Linked DNA regions of Homo sapiens: all the other regions are linked to region 1. Evidence: promoter capture Hi-C in 16 types of primary human blood cells and fetal thymus (Javierre and others, 2016). All regions are on one chromosome and are shown on one strand. Each heading gives the region's core, a stretch centred on a gene start or on the middle of the fragment in contact. The rest is flanking DNA. Distances are from core to core; before and after follow the strand shown.

Region 1 (3,098 bases), core at 342-2,841:
ACTCTGACAAGCTGTAACACTGCCTCGATTTTTTCTTACTTATATTTTTTCCTTTACATTTGTTTGTTTGTTTGTTTGTTTGTTTTTAATTGTGGCAAGAACACGTGCCAGGCGCGGTGGCTCATGTCTGTAATCCCAGCACTTTGGGAGGCCTAGGCGGGCAGATTACTTGAGGCCAGGAGTTCAAGACCAGCCTGGCCAACATGGTAAAACCCCATCTCTACTAAAAGTACGCAAATTAGCTGGGCATGGTGGCGCATGCCTGTAGTCCCAGCTACTGAGGAGGCTGAAGCAGGAGAATTGCTTGAACCCGGGAGGTGGAGGTTGCAGCAAGCTGAGATCGCACCACTGCACTCCAGCCTGGGCGACAGAGTGAGACTCCATCTCAAAAAAAAAAAAAAAAGAACACTTAACATAAGACCTACCCTCTTAATGGATTTTCCAGTACACAATACAGCAGTATTAACTATATACTACACCTATATAGAGATCTCTAAAACTTAATCATCTTGCATACCTGAAATTTTATCCTTGTTGATTTAGCTAACACTTTTTGAGTGTTTGTGATGTGATAAGCCTTGTTCTAAGCATTTTATTTATATTAATTTATTTAATCTTCAAAATAGCCATGAGGAAGGTATAGAATGACTGCTCAAGTCACTGGCTTAATCCACAAGAGACTGCACCAATTTGAAAAGTCTACAATAATAACATTTGGAAGGCGATTTACACTTGATAAACATTACTTCATTTAATCCACACAACAGCCTGTTAAGATCAACATTATCTTCATCTTAAAATAAGGAAACTGAAGACCACTCAGTCAACACACATCTGCCTACAGTGTGCTGGGCCCTGGGGTGCACATGAACAAGGTGTTTGGGGTCCCCATGCCCTTGAGTGAGACTTGAGTAAGTACTCCTGAACTGAGTGTACAACGGGGGAAATCTAGGCACCACACAAAATCACAAGAGCTATAATAACTTCGTCTGGAAGGGGAGACGTTTCACAAACAATTCTGTCCAGGGTCGCACTGCTGCCAAGCTCTGTGCCTGCCTGTGGTACGGGACCCCATGTACGACTTACAGACCAGTTAGTCCACAACAGTAACTTCCCCTTCAGCACCTGAGCTCCTTAAGAACAGTGCCTGTGTCCTAATCACCTGCATAACCCAACACCCAGCAGAGAGCCTGGCACGTGGGGGTTGCCCATAAACACTTGCCTAATGAAAGCTCTGTTCTTCTTCATGCCCACTTGCCCTCCCTCCTTTCTTTCCCCAGACCTTCCTTTTATTCTCAGCAATCCAGAGATTAGACTTTGGCTCCTTAGCACAGTCTCCTGCCATAATTCTCAAACCCAGAGTAGTTACAAGAACGGTAGAATGAAAATGGTATCGGGGAGGGGAGTGGAACTAGTAGGTCTTAGACATTCACTCTGTGCTCAGCATTCTATCTTTAGCATCTTAAATCTAACAGCAGCCCTGGTGGGTAGGTAGTAAATGGCAGAGCTGGGATTTTACTCTGACGCCCAGGTTCACCATGTTCTGCTGCCCTTGGCTCTCTCCTCCAAGCTACAGCGAGTGGCCGGTGCTGTTGTCAGTGAGGGATAAAGCTCAAAGCCTCCCATTTGGGCTTCTCCCCCTCCGCACTAGGACCTCCCCAAAACCAGGAGTTTCTTCCAGAGGTCGTATGCTCACTCCCTGAGGGCCTGGGATGCATCTTCCCAGGGCTTCCCATTTCCAATTTTGAGTCCCTTATTCCTGAAGAAACTCCCAGGGGACAGGTATTCAGGGACAGTCCACTGGGTTGCAACAGCTAATGAAACTGACATCTGACAGATACCATTCTCCACCTGCTCACCTGGGGAATAATATCACTAAGCTCCTCCTCTGTGCTGGCCTTCTGCTAAGCCTTTCTCAACAATACCTCATTTAATCCTCACAACAACCTTCAGAGGTTGTTCCATCTCCATTATGTCAGGGTCCTGAGAACAAAGAAATGTCAGGTTGGGCCTTCCAGGAAGCTGACGCTAAGACAAAATTAGACATACAAAAGACTAATTGGAAGAAACATCTAAGAAGGATAAAGGAGTGAGGGAATAGGAGCAGGCCCAGAAAGTCTCAGACCCTGCTGCAGGTCTGCCACCAAAGAAGAGAGAAGGGGAGGAAGGATTGGGCAGGAAGAGCCTCAGGCTTCGGGACTGTAGTGTCCTCCTGGTGCTCAGTCACTGGTGAGGGCAGCTCAAGAAGAGTGTGACCTCCACGCGAACGCTGCGGTGTAACAGGGAGGGGCTGAAGCTACCCACAGCCCTCACAGGAGGTCCTCTCTTTTTTTTTTTTTTTTTTTTTAGATTTTTTTTGTTGCTGTTTTTTATTTTTATTTTTTTATTATACTTTAAGTTCTAGGGTACATGTGCACAATGTGCAGGTTTGGTACATAGGTATACATGTGCCATGTTGGTTTGCTGCACCCATCAACTTGTCATTTACATTAGATATTTCTCCTAATGCTATCCGTCCCCCAGTCTCCCACCCCCCGACAGGCCCCAGTGTGTGATGTTCCCCACCCTGTGTCCAGGTGTTCTCATTGTTCAATTCCCACCTATAAGTGAGAACATGCAGTGTTTGGTTTTCTGTCCTTGTGATAGTTTGCTGAGAATGATGGTTTCCAGTTTCATCCATGTCCCTGCAAAGGACATGAACTCATCCGTTTTTAGGGCTGCATAGTATTCCATGGTGTATATGTGCCACATTTCCTTAATCCAGTCTATCATTGATAGACATTTGGGCTGGTTCCAAGTCTTTGCTATTGTGAATAGTGCCGCAATAAACATACGTGTGCATGTGTCTTTATAGTGGCATGATTTATAATCCTTTGGGTATATACCCAGCAATGGGTTTGCTAAGTCAAATGGTATTTCCAGTTCTAGATCCTTGAGGAATCACCACACTGTCTTCCACAATGGTTGAACTAATTTACACTCCCACCAACAATGTAAAAGTGTTCCTATTTCTTCTCCACATCCTCTCCATCATCTGTTGTTTCTTGAATTTTTAATGATCTCCATTCCAAATGGCGTGAGATGGCATCTCATTGTGG
Region 2 (2,817 bases), core at 1-2,500, 540 kb before region 1:
CCGCGTTTCTCTTCCGACGCGGGTAGGGCGTGCTTGTCCCATTCCCAGGAACCCAACTCATCTGAAACAACAGGGCACAACCGCCGGCCTCGGGTTGCTCAGCCGCCACCCCAGAAATCCCCGTTGGAGGTACCTCCTCTGAGCCACTGCAAATGAGCGGGAATCCTCTACCGGCCACAAGCCCAGAGCCCCCAGCGTGCCAGTTCCTCGGGATGTTCAGCGGCTTCCACTGGGGGAGAAGGGAGGGTCAAAATCAGCAACGTTCCTCCGGGAGTGGGAATCTAAAACCAAATCACCTCCCCGAGGGAATCTCCAAACTACCTACTCGCCCCAGGCTCCGACCCTCAGCATATCCACCTGCCGCGGGACCCCCAAACCAGCCCCTCTCCTAGTAAACATTAATTCAAGTACTTCCTCCGGAAATCCCCAAATAGCCACTTGCCTGGGAAACCCCAGCTCTGGTCCTTCCCCGTCTAACCCCCTTTTCTAAGACGGTCGGCCGTCACTCCCTGAACTTCCACAGCACCTGCTTCGGTGGAAACCCGGTTCTGCAGTCCCTGCTGGGGGAACCCCTGCCTCAAAGCCCAAGATGCCCAAGCGCTGTTCCCAGACCCTGGCATAGACACCTCCCGCGGGGCTCCTCCCCAGCCCGGCAGCCTCGAAAGTTCTGGAACCCCTGACTTGCGCTTTGGACCCAGATAATCAAGGACTCTGAGTCTCAATCCCGAGAAGTCACTTTACAATCTCTCGGAACACCCCGAGCTCCTCCAGGAACAAGGAGTGCGAGGCACCCCACCACCTCCACTCGGGTCCCGATGGCTCCACCGGCCCTAGCCATCCCGTCCACCCCTGCTTAGCACCCAGCTACCTGCACCGAGTCCGCAGGCGAACCTAAAGTTGACTCCCCCCGGGGAAGTTGCACGGCGACTGACGGCCCCAGTGACGCGTGCGCTCCCGGCCCGAGTTGGGATGGCCTGCCGGCTGCACCTAATGTGATGCTAAGCTGAGGTCTCTCACTGGAGCCTCGGTTGGAATCCCCTCGCCGCAGCCTGGCTGGTCGCTGGATGGGTACAGGAGGCGAGCGAGGAGCGCCTCCCAGGCTGCGCGCGCGGACAGCGTCTGGATGCGGCGCTGTGCGCTGGGGCTGAGGCTGCACTATCGCACGGGTCCGCTAGGGGGCGGGCGAGGCCAGCCGCGCAGACCCCTCCGGAGCGGAGCTGGTTCGCCCAGCGTTGGTCCCAGAGCCTTAACAAATGGGTTTATTTTGCAGTGGTTTAAAACTGCGAGAGGGAGGGAACTCGTCAATAACCCGCCCGTTTCTTCCTTTCTTGGTTTAGAAGCTCTTGACTCCGAGACACATAGGAGGCTTGAATAATAATGTTCTTCCCCGGGTAGATAGTGATGAAGTTACAAAAGCATTTAAACTGATTATTTCCCAAAAATGATGTTAATTTTCAGGCTTTTCTCTCCCCCCACACCTCCAGCTTGATGTAGCGGCTTTAGCAGTGAACTCAAATAAGTCTTTGCTTTGGAATACTTTTGTTCCTATTCCCGTTAATGAGGAATTAGAAATGGCCTCTATTCTAAGCAGTGCTGGGAGAGGCGTTATTTTTTCGGTAGTTTTAGAGGAAATTCTGAAGCACAACACTGTCTTCATTTAAAGTGATTCTGCTTGTCTGCGCCCAAGAGCCGTTTCTGCCTCCTTGTCGCGCTTCGGAATTAAAATTCTAAATGATGCCAAAGGAAGATAAAATGTTAAAGACAGCTTCTCAGCCTCCCTGCCCCTTCTCTATTCTAAAATCATTTTTTGAAGTAATTTACAGTGGCCAAGAATTAAGTCAGAAAAAAAGGCCAGGATTCAAAAATAAACAGGGCTCTTTAAAATGCATTAAATGTGTATTTCCTCCTGACATTTCACTTCTCCGTCTTTTTATTATGTGGAGAGACTTGAGTTAGCCAAGGACTGGGTTTCCTTAATCCACAATTACAGCCCCATGCCGAGATATCCCAGGGGCCAACCTTACAGCACCTGGATCCCAGGGTTCTAGCTGAGTAATCATTCCAGAATGGGGCTGGGAATCTTGACAGCATTGCCAAGGGGTGGCAGGCAGTATTAATCAATATTAGTCAATAGTACCTATCGGCCTCGAAAATTACAGATTAAAGTTACAGACGACTCAGGTGAGAATGAAGTGACCTTGGGCAAGCCCCTTCTCTTTGGGCCTCAGTCTCCTCATATGTAAAATGAGAGCACTGGTCAAGATAGCTAATGTCTGAGGTCCTGTCCCTCTGGTTTTCTGAAACTGTATAATCTGTGCAATCTGAGGGTTCAATCCTAGCAGGTAAAACACCCCTGCCTCACTCCACGGCTGGATGAAGGCAGATTTTTCCCTATGAGCCCCTGACCGGTGAATGTGAGAAGGAAAACACTGGCCTGTAGAACCAAGCCTGCCCTTCTTTCTCCTGGAAGACAGCTGCTTTCTAGGGAGCAAGTTTACTGAGCCACTTCACCAAGGACAGACTCTTCTACCCTTTGTAGGGAAGCCTGCCTACCTGTGTGGTCCTCGCGTAGCCCGTGAGACAGCCTAATTCTGGATTCACCTAACAGGGCTATTTAGTCTCATGCAAAAGGTAAATTCTCTAACTTAGTTTTAATCTAAACAACAACAATAACAACAACAGTAATAGTGTGATCCCCATTTCCTGTCTTTTGTTTTATTTCTCATTGTGTGCAGAAACCAGGCAGGAAATAGAGAGGTCCCCTTGAAAACTCCTAACAATGAATAAGACATGCTCCTTCACCTTTGAGCTTCGGCC
Region 3 (3,098 bases), core at 240-2,739, 570 kb before region 1:
CTGGCCACCAGGGAGCTTCCTCACACACAAATCTGATACCGACCCTGTCCTGCTTTGAAGCCTTCAATGGCTTTCCAGCACCCCTAGACAAAATCCACATTCTTTAGTATGACATTTGGGATGCTGCACACCCAGGCCTGAGCTGAGCTGTATCTCCTGCCTCAACCCCAGACACCCTGTGCTCCAGCCACTCCACACTTTTCAACATTCCTGTCTATACCACTCCTCAATATCCACAATCCTGTAACTTGAAGTGTTCTAGGTGCTGAGCTCCTGCTTGTCATTCGATACCTATCTGCAAAGCCACCTCCCACAGGAAGTCTTCCCCGGTGTCCTCAGAGTAAGTTACTGACTCCTATGGACTTCTAAGACCAGCTCTTTGTAAAATATCTCTGATCTGTGGCACTTACCGCACAGTATTATAATCACTTATTGTTTTAATTAGTCTCCCCACCTTGACTGGGAGCACTTCAAGGCGGACAGAGCCTTGTTGGTCTGTTTATCCCCAGCTATTAGCAAATCCTGAATGAAGGAGTGAATAGACAGGTAAATGGAAGCACAGACCCTGACCCCTGAGGATTCAGAGTTGCCATCCTTCATGCTGCTGGAGCCCAGGGGAAGGCTGAGTTAGAAGAGGGCACAGAAAAACCGAGCAGGTATCTAAGAGAGGTGCACCCCACTGATGCATGTGGAGTGTCTGGGACCCAAGAAAATCCTGGAAGCTGTCACTAGGGCAGGGTGAAGGGTAGCACGAACATGGACTTCATGTTCCCCCCACCGGGCATATCCCAGTGCAGGCTCCAGACGGCAGACGAGGGGCAGCCCCACAGCAGCTTCCTCTCCCTGTTTCATCCCCAGCCTGGCCCCACACCACAGTCCATCAACTCCTGCTCCAGGTGGAAACCTCAGAAACCCACAAAGCTCGGACCTGCTCCAGGTCACCAAGCAGCAGGGCCAGGCACTGGCAATCCAACGAGAAGCCCCACTACATCGCATTCCAGCTCCTGAAGCCATTCCCTGGGTAGGAGAGCCCTGATTGTTATTATCATCTCTCCATTTTACAGATGGGGACAGAGTGGCCTAGAGAGGTGAAGTGTGCCAAAGGTCACACAGCCAGCCAGAGGCAGAGGAGGGACTAACCCCACTTCCCTCCACGGGCAGTGCACCCCAAAGGAGCCAAAATGCTGACAGCAGTGGGGCAAATTCCAGGGGCCCCGGAGCGACCGCCGAGTTGGCCACAGCCACACGATGCATAGGAAACGCTAGGCCCTCTGCACCCTCTCCTGAGGCCCAGTGCCCTGAGGCAGCCCCCTTTAAGGAGCGATCGGCCTTCCAGAAGAGCTCCAGTCTTAATTTTAGCTTGGAGGCCTGCCACAGGAGGCTTTAGAGAGAGGCAGGCTGAAGTTATGTGGGACAGCTGTCAGCCGGCATGCTGGGTGGGGCCTATTTAGCTGGCAGGGACATAAGTCTGGGGACACTGAATTGGTCTCTCTGCCCCAAGTATTTTCAGCCCCAGCCGGCCACACAGCTCGGATCTCCTCCTGTGGATCCCCCCAGCTCTGCGATGATGGCAGAAGAGCACACAGATCTCGAGGCCCAGATCGTCAAGGATATCCACTGCAAGGAGATTGACCTGGTGAACCGAGACCCCAAGAACATTAACGAGGACATAGTCAAGGTAGGCTCTGCAGGCCTGCCTCGGCGGGCGGAGAGTGTCAGGTTTGCGAGACGTGGGCGCTTGGCAGGGGAGGGTATCTGCTGCAGACACAGTTTCCCTGAAAAGAGACTTGTTGCTCTGTTGTCTCTGTATCACCCCCCCAACCCCACCCCACCCCCAAAAAAAGGCTTCTAAATCACCGAAGGATCTTTAGCAAAATCAAGAGCAAAAAATTAGCCTCATCTCCATGACCTAAGTGCTAATCAGGGCAGGAGGAGCGAGTCACAAAGAAAATCCCTCCTTACTACTGTGACGCTCCTGCCACTCACTCCTGGCTCTCACCCTGGGAGGAACAGGAACGGGCGGCCAAGTTGGGCTCCTTTCTGTGCCAAGGGGCATTTCTGCGGTCTCTCCAGTGGGTGCAGGGTTAATCCCCAGAGGGCAGCTTCCAGCAGGGCCGGCAGCCCCTCGAGGTACACTCACTCCCCCAGAGCACTGCCCAATATCTGTCCCCAAGGCCGAGGGCCATGCCCAGCCCTCCCCTAGCTACCCCCTCACCCCAGGTCTAGTGGCCAGGACAGGGCAGACGGCACCCGGGACCCTCGAAGAGAAAGCTCGGGGTTGTCTAGCCCTCAGGGAGTCTCTCAGCGTCTGAAGTTGGGCCTCTTCCCTCGCCTCCTGGTGACACTAGCGGCCCTGCTGCCTCCAGGCCCACACCTTCAATCCAACTTCCAGCCAGTACCCAGAGGGATCTTTCTTTTTTCTTTTTGAGACAGTCTCTCTCTGTCCCCAAGGCTGGAGTGCAGTCGCACACTCACGCCTCACTGCAGCCTCAACCTCCCAGGCTCAAGTGATTCTCCCTCCTCCACCTCCTGATTAGCTGGGACCACAGGCGAGTGCCACCATGCCCAGCTAATTTTTGTATTTTTAGTAGAGACTGGGTTTCATTATGTTGACCAAGCTGGTATCAAACTCTTGGGCTCAAGTGATCCTCCTGCCTCCCAAAGTGCTGGGATTACAGGTGCAAGACTCCACAACTGGCTCAGAGGTACCTTTCTAAAGCAGAATTCCTCCAAGAAGGGTCCCCAGCCACCAGCATCTGAGTCACTGGAGGGGCTGTTAAGAGGCCAGTGTCTGAGGCCTCTCAGATCCTACTGAAAGCATTGGAATCTCAGGCCAGTGCTGTCCAATAGGGATACTGTTACCACAAGGAATTTAAAATTTTCTAGCAGCCACATTTTAAAATGCGAAAGCAAACAGGTGAAATTAATGTTCCTGATATTTCTTACTTAACCCTATATATCTAAAATAGTATTATTTCAACATGTAAGCAATATAAAACAATTATCAATGAGCTATTGTACAGTCTTCAAGTTTGAAATCCAGTGTGCTTCCTATACCCACAGTATATTTCAGTTCAGACCCCACATTTTCATCCGAA

What was found. Contacts are between HindIII fragments. The CHiCAGO score rates a contact against its expected background, and 5 or more counts as called.
Region 2: a contact is called between the fragment with the promoter of OXTR here and a fragment that was not itself captured in region 1, in 3 of 17 cell types (naive B cells, M1 macrophages and endothelial precursors). The highest score is 7.1, in naive B cells.
Region 3: the fragment with the promoter of CAV3 here is called in contact with a fragment that was not itself captured in region 1 in 1 of 17 cell types (endothelial precursors); the score reaches 5.2 in endothelial precursors.

The regions. Positions count from the first base shown.
Region 1 is chr3:9,303,038-9,306,135 of GRCh38, forward strand. It overlaps a transcript of SRGAP3 not described here. Among named protein-coding and RNA genes, the nearest start is that of SRGAP3-AS4, 55 kb to the left of the region's middle. The HindIII fragment of the contact is 5,856 bases long and covers 1-3,098 here.
Region 2 is chr3:8,768,363-8,771,179 of GRCh38, forward strand. OXTR (oxytocin receptor) reads right to left here and starts at 1,251. Exons shown (of 4, transcript NM_000916.4): 1 at 869-1,251; 2 at 134-229. RefSeq lists enhancers at 47-718, 1,366-1,415. The HindIII fragment of the contact is 6,509 bases long and covers 1-2,817 here.
Region 3 is chr3:8,732,313-8,735,410 of GRCh38, forward strand. It overlaps CAV3 (caveolin 3), which reads left to right and starts at 1,490. Exons shown (of 2, transcript NM_033337.3): 1 at 1,490-1,678. The coding sequence starts at 1,565. The HindIII fragment of the contact is 6,732 bases long and covers 1-3,098 here.